Linked DNA regions of Homo sapiens: region 1 is linked to region 2. Evidence: promoter capture Hi-C in 16 types of primary human blood cells and fetal thymus (Javierre and others, 2016). All regions are on one chromosome and are shown on one strand. Each heading gives the region's core, a stretch centred on a gene start or on the middle of the fragment in contact. The rest is flanking DNA. Distances are from core to core; before and after follow the strand shown. Region 1 overlaps CES3 (carboxylesterase 3). Region 2 holds the start of TMEM208 (transmembrane protein 208).

The links. The method cuts DNA at HindIII sites, captures the fragments that hold promoters and counts their contacts. A CHiCAGO score of 5 or more calls a contact.
Region 1: a contact is called between a fragment that was not itself captured here and the fragment with the promoter of TMEM208 in region 2, in 11 of 17 cell types (M2 macrophages, naive CD4 T cells, activated CD4 T cells and 8 more). The highest score is 9.4, in M2 macrophages.

Annotation. Positions count from the first base shown.
Region 1 is chr16:66,962,753-66,966,393 of GRCh38, reverse strand. It overlaps CES3 (carboxylesterase 3), which reads right to left. Exons shown (of 13, transcript NM_024922.6): 2 at 3,011-3,215; 3 at 2,765-2,903; 4 at 2,459-2,592; 5 at 1,884-2,037; 6 at 1,667-1,771; 7 at 49-150. Among named protein-coding and RNA genes, the nearest start is that of CES3, 3.3 kb to the right of the region's middle. RefSeq lists an enhancer at 1,739-2,656. The HindIII fragment of the contact is 7,346 bases long and covers 1-3,641 here.
Region 2 is chr16:67,225,627-67,228,968 of GRCh38, reverse strand. It overlaps TMEM208 (transmembrane protein 208), which reads right to left and starts at 1,839. Exons shown (of 6, transcript NM_014187.4): 1 at 1,745-1,839; 2 at 1,038-1,133; 3 at 555-614; 4 at 338-474; 5 at 88-172. The coding sequence starts at 1,750. It also overlaps the pseudogene FBXL9P. RefSeq lists an enhancer at 1,687-2,036. The HindIII fragment of the contact is 11,037 bases long and covers 1-3,342 here.

The sequences.
Region 1 (3,641 bases), core at 192-2,691, 260 kb after region 2:
CCCCCTCTGTGCCATTGCCCGGCACCATCCCCAAAAGGGTGGCCATACCAGCTTCTTGCTAAGGACCAGCTCTTCTCCTTCTTTCTGCTGAAGGCACTGCACCATCTCAGCCGGGGAGCTGGAGCTGCAGGCCAAGGTGTTTGCGATTTTCTGGGGACAAATGAAAGAGTCATGCCTCCCTCTCAGCCACTCAGCCCCACCTTGCAGCCTTCTGCCTCCCACAGAGAGGGTGCATCTGTAGGACAGCTGGATGTGATGTCACAGATCGGCCTCGAGACTGGTCACAGACTTGTCACCACTCCTGAGAAGCCTGCCCTGCCCGTCAGCTTGGGTGGTCCCAAGGGCCCCCTTGCGTCCCCTATTATACCATAATTTTATTATCTGGGGGAATGGGGGCACTGAGTCCTCATTGCCCTCTAAGAATAGTGTCATTATCTTTTATTATTATTTTTTTGAGACAGACTCTCGCTCTGTCGCCCAGGCTGGAGTGCAGTGGCATGATCTTGGCTCACCGCAAGCTCTGCGTCCCGGGTTCACACCATTCTTCTGCCTCAGCCTCCTGAGTAGCTGGGACTACAGGCACCTGCCACCATGCCCGGCTAATTTTTTGTATTTTTAGTAGAGATGGGGTTTCACCATGTTAGCCAGGATCACCTTGATCTCCTGACTTTGTGATCCGCCAACCTCAGCCTTGAGCTGTGTTTTTCTTTGGACACAGGAGAGACAGGGAATGACCTCAAGTCTGTGGTTGAGAAAATCTCTCCTGGCCATGGGGAGAGGATGGGATGGGGAGGTTGAGAGGAGGATGCTGTTGTCCATACAAGAGTCAACATGCCCACGCAGAGGTTCCAGAATCATCTTGTACACAGTGGTTAAAATGCCCAGCCCACACTGCCTTGGCCACCATCTGGGGCCAGGTGAGGGAATTGACCCAGTCTTCCAAATCCTGCTCACATTTGCCCCCTCTCTCCCCGATGGCTCTATCCCTATTCCATCCTGTCTCTTTCTCCTGGACTCTGCCCTGGTCATTTCACTGGTGTCTTGATCTTCAGGACGGCTCCCTCCAACCCACCTTCTACTCCAGGTAGCTCAACCTTGTCATTGCCCAACTTCTTCCTGCCCTCTGGAGAAAGTCCAGATTCCCAGGCATGGCCCCCACTTCTCCAGCACCTTCACTTCCTGCCCTGTTCCCTAACCTGCGAGCTTGCTCCTGCAGGACCTGTCACTCTCTCCCACACCTGCAGCCTTTGCAGATGCAGTTCCCACTGTGGCTTCCCCTGGATTTTCTTCACAAGGCCTTACAATGAGGATCTAGGGTGGGGATCTGGAGCCTGAATGGAGAGCTCGCAGGCAGCAGGTGGCTGGCAATGGAGACCCCCTCCACCATGCTGCCTGGGGCAGAGAGGGGTGCTCCTGAAGACCCCACCCTGGAGAAAGGGCCAACAATGATATGCTTCAGGGTGGCTTCCTTCAGGAAGCCCTCCCTGAGTGCCAATATGCTGGAATGCAGCAGTTGTTTCCTCTGATGCTCCTTCGTCTTATTGGGCTTCTCTTTGCTAACAGGGAGCTCCCTGCCAGCAAACCCCGCTACTCTGAGACCCCAGGGCCAGCACAGAGTGGGGTATGGGAGGCACACATAGAGTAAGAGAGGGAAGGAAATACAGACCTGAGCTAGGGGCCAAGGGTGAGAGTCGATGATCCCTGGGGTGGTGATGACCCCACTCTGTGTGATGGCTCTGTGGAACAGCCCTGCAGCCACTGGGGACAGGACCTGGGTGCATTGGAGAGAGGAGGTGGCTGTCAGAGGAGGGCAGAGGAGCTGGGAGTTCTGAGACCACCGGAGCCCTCCTGGCCACCATCACTAGCCCCCTATAGTGACTTACCAGGCCAGAGATGATGCTCCCACCGGCAGATCCACCAAAGACAGTGACACAGTTGAGGTCACCCCCGAAGGGGGCGATGTTTTCTTGCACCCAGCGCAAAGCAGCTACCACATCTAGGAAGCCCTGGTTGCCAGGTGCATGCTCATCTCCAGTGCTGGGGGCAGTGTTGGGGCAACGGTTAGTTCAGCCTGGCTCCTCGCCAGCCTCTGCAGGTTTGCTTTGAATTAGCCACCAGGATGCCAGACCCTTCTCTGCTCCCCAGGTCTGGCCTGTCTGGGAGCCGTGGTTGGCATCTCCACAGCCTGTTGCTCTTTGTCCCATATCCTGCTGGAACCTGGGCTTCAGCCCAGGAATCAATGCCCTCTGCCCAAGGGACCAAGTTCACTGTATAATTCTGGCTTTGGCTGGACCCCTCTCCCAGGGTGGAGGCTTGGGGGGTGCCCTTCTCTGCCTCAGACATCATGGGTAAGGGGCCCTCCCTTCAGGTTCCGGACCCCAACCTAGATCCCCAGTTGCTCTGGTGAGCTGGCCTCTCCCCGGTGCAGGCAGTGCTCTGGCCATGCCTGTCGTCTCACCTGAAGAAGCCAAGGACCCCAAGGCGGTACTGGACTGTAACCACGACCACATCCCCATAGGCAGCCAGAGCTGATCCATCGTAGGAGGTGGCAGCGCCAGTTATCAGAGCGCCTCCATGGACCCATACCATGACCTGCAGAGGTGGCCATGGGGCACTGACCCCCAAGCTCCTGAGACCTTAGCTGCCCACCTGCCAGCCCAGGCAGTCTCAGGACCGCTAGGGTGCTTTGGAAACAGGGACGGGGAGGGGACAGGTAGGCATAGTGGAGCTGGATCAGGTGGACAGGGCCCTCTGGGGTGCCTACCGGCCTACCGGACCCTGCGGGGACCTCAGCTGGGCTATAGACGTTGAGGACCAGGCAGTCCTCTGAAACGGAGAAGATCTGCTGTTTTCCGTTGAGGACAAATCTGCTGCTGTTCATGCTCTCCACGTCTTGTAGGCACCTGTGGCCAAGGGTGGGCCTGAGGTCCAGCTGTTCAGCCCCACAAGCCCCAGCAGCAGGATTCTCCTGCAACCTGCCTGTTTGCCCGCCTCCACCAGCACTACTCACATTGGGGGCGCAGTGCTGGCATCCCGCACACCCTCCCAGGGCTGTGCTGGGTGTGGGGCTGAGAACCGGTCAGGGCCCAGTGGCGGCTGGGCAAATGGAATGCCCAGAAAGACATTCACAAGGCGGTCTGTGCCCTTCACGCCCACCTGCCGGCCTCGCACACGACCCAGGGTGGTGTCTACTTCAGGCTGAGCAACTTCGGGCCCTGAGGGAAGGACAGAAAGGCCACGGGGTGAGTTTGCAGCCCCCATGAGGGGAAGGAGTGAAAGACAAACCCTCAGGCTGTTCTCAGTACTTACCACACAGCATCTTGGTAACCTTCCCAGCAAGCCGGTGAGCCTGGTCTTAGGTTGACGCCCAACTTCCTCCTCCCTGCCTGCCTGAGAGTCACTACCACTCCACTCCAGGCCAGACCGGGCCTGCCACTAGGGCCTTGTGCCTTGGGGCCAGCCACTTGCCCATTTCTTTGTTTTTATTTTTTGTGTTTGAGACAGGGTCTAGCTCTGTTGACCAAGCTGGAGTGCAGTGGCACGATCTTGGCTCACTGCAACCTCTGACTCCCGAGTTCAAGCGACTCCAGGGCCTCAGCCTCCCAAGTAGCTGGGATTACAGGTGTGCACCACAACGCCTG
Region 2 (3,342 bases), core at 590-3,089:
AGAAACGGTAACTTGAAGCAAGATGCAGGGAATAAAAGATGGGGAGGGTTAGATGCCCCTTCTTGGGAGCGCCCCCAGCCCACATACCAGAAGCCAGAAGGACCAGACATAGAGAGAGAAGCAGCTGAGCACCTGCACGATGGCTGTCAGTAGGATCACATCCTTAAGGTGCCTGTGGATAGAAATAAAGCTGGAAAGACAGCATATGGGCCCTTCCACCCTTTTCAAGTTGCAACTCCCTTCCACCCTTTTCAAGTTACAAGTAGCTGTGCTTCTTGGGCTATCTGGGCCCCAGCCCTGGGGCCGCTCACCTGGGCTGGCGGTGGGGGACACTCACTCTGCCATGCCCTGCTCCATGTTGAGGTCCATGCCACCATCCATCAGGGCCCCATCCTCAGAGAACGCTGCTCGTGCCATCGAGCTCATAGAGTGGTAGCTGGCCCCATACACTGCCAGACTAAAGCCCAGGGCCAACTGCAGAGCAAGAATGAGGGTATCAAAGGCCAGCCACTGACCCTACGCACTCATCCACCTCCCAGGATGGAGATACTTACCCAGGCCCAAAATGAGGCAGATGAGTAAAAGAAGACCAACGTCACAAGGCAGTAAATGGCCTGCAAGCAATCACAGGATCAGGTTGGGGTCAGAAGTTACCTCCAAACCATGGGTCTCCCTCAACTCTGACCAAGAATTAGGCCAGGCTGTGGGAGGAGCAAGGTTGTTCTTACAGGGTTGAAGAAAGGGCCCTGCTCCCTGAATCCCAAATACCCACTCTCCTCTGACACCCAACTCAGCCCAGGAAAGAAGCCTTTGTGTACTTGGAGGTAGGAAGAGCTCTCAAATTCAGCTACGACTCACGCCTTCATTTTCTTTGTGTTTTACTAGTTAGCACTTTCTCTGTGCCCAGATCTCTCATTTCTTTTTGACTGGAGCTCTCTTCTAGAGCTTTTTCGGGTACCACTCCTCGTCACCAAGCAGGGCTGAGGACTAGGGAACTGACTATAAGTGGGCATAGAAGCAAGGAGGTAGGCACTTACATTGGCCCCCAGTATGATCCGCAGGTAGAACTTCAGAGTCTCTCTGTTCTCTTCAAATATCTGCTTCTTCCCTCTCGTGCCCACTTTGCCCTTGGGCTGCAGAGGAATGATGAGATGCCGTCAGGAGGCCACGGTCCTCCTCATTCTCCCCACCAGCCTGGTGAGCTATAGAGCTCCATCCGCAACTCAGCCAGGTCCCCGTAGTGCAGAAACCTAGCAAAATCCCTGGGATGTCCACCCATCCTCCAGTCCATTCTGCCTAGGGCTGACGCCATCTCTCCAGCACCCGCAGCTAGGATCAATCGCCTCTTGCTCGCCCTGGAACAATTCAATCCTAAGCTAATACCGCCTCTGGATCCCGTGGTAGTCTGGCTTTAGGCTAACGACTCTTCCAAGGGTACTCCTGAGCGGAGTTGAATGGTGCCTCTCTCAGGCCTCCGCTGGCGTAGTCCCGATCTGGGTTAACCCCCACCTCAGGTCACTTAGATCTCTGGCCTGCCCTGGTACTGATGCCCACCCCGCTCTGGCACTAGTCCTGGTATGGTCCTGCGCCGCCATCCCCCCAGCCCAGCTCTAGCACGGTCTGGCCAGGGATGGCGCCCCGCTCTGGCCCACCCCATATCCCTTAATGTTCTTTCTCAGTTTTCACTCTCACAGCCCCTGGAGAGCTTTGCTGGTGCGGACCCCGCCCTATCCATCCTCCTTACCGCCATGGTGCGAGGCAAATACCCAGCCCGGGAAACACGGGAGAGCGACCGAAACCGCAATCACTAAGCACCACATCGGCAGCTCATGCACTTCCGGCGCAGACCGAAGTCGTCAGCTTTTGCGACGGAAATAGGTCTCACTTCCTTCCCAAGCCCCGCCCCAAAGAGGCGAGACTACATTTCCCAGAAAGCCTTGCGCAGTGGGGGCGGAGGCGGCAGGGATGCGATGGCGGAGTCGCTGCCCCTGGAGGTGAGAGGAAGCCGCCCTCAGGCCTAGCTCTGGACAGGCCCCGCCCTCGCGGTCCTGAGCTTTGGGGAGGGGCTGTCAGATAGCTAGCCCGGCCCCTCCAGCCTGGCGGAAACGACCCGCCCTCCCGATCCCGGGACCTTCTAGCTCTGGGTAACGGTTCCTCCTTTGGGCCACTCTGTCCCTTTAGCTTGGGGGACCGTCCTCCCCTTCCCTATCGGCCCCAGAAGATAGCTGCCCTGTCATCTCCGCGAGAACAGGCCCTCTGCCCATCCCCTTCCCTTGAAGTGGCTGTCTCCTCCCCGCTCAGTTCTGGAAGATGTCCGCTCCATCTCATCGTCCCGAAGGGTAACTGATCTTATCCCCATTGGTCCCTTGGGATGATCTCTCCATTTCCTACAGAGACGGCCGCCCCTTCTCCCTGGCAGTGGGAAACAGACTGCTCCCTCCCCATCAACTGCAATGATCTCTGAGTTCCTTTAACAAGGATAGGCCTGTTCCCCATTCCTAGGCCCCTAGTGATGGCCGCCCTTACCTCTTTCACTCCGTGGGATGTTTGCTCCTTCCCCTTAGCCAGGGGCAAGACCACTCTGCCCCATCTGCCAGGGAGATAACAGGTTTTGTCTTCAGTGGCCTGTTGGAATGGCTTCTCCATCTCTTTTGTCCTGAGGGTTGGCAGCCCCCTCTCTCTGCCCATGGGAAACAGGCCACCCTTTCCCATCGGTCCTGGAATGATGCTCCTGTCCTTAGCAAAAATAGGCCTGTTCCCACCCCTATTGAGCTTGCAGTGCTATCCCTTTCCCCCTTAGCTTTAGGGGCTATCTATTTCCATCCCCATAGACCCCATGAGTGACCAATCATTATCTCCAGTAGCCCCCTTGAGATGGGACTCATGGGATGGTCACTCCATCCTCATCACTGCCTCCTCTTGTCCCTCTAGAAAGGCCACCCTCTTCTTAGGTCAATGAATTGTGTCCCTTCCCGACTCACCCCAAGGGATGACAGGTTTGTTCCCCTCTCCCTTTGCTCTTGGGCTGGCTGCTTAGCCCCAGAAGACAGGATGGCCACTGTCTTAACTCAGCTCAAACAGGCTTCCGTGCCTCCCTGGAGGGATTGGGACTTGGTCAGTCCCAGTCCCCATCAATACTGTCTTCCCTATGCCTCCCTTCCTGGCCCAGAAGTCTATTCTGCCAGTCATTGTCCTCTCAGTAATGACTGCTTTATTTCCCCGACCCCTTCCCTGAGCATACTCTTGGTGAAAATAGAGGTAGAGGACTGGACTGTCCAACCTTAATTTAATCCAGTAAGCACTGGCTGAGCACTGTGCCTGCGTGCTTGGCATCTGAGAAAG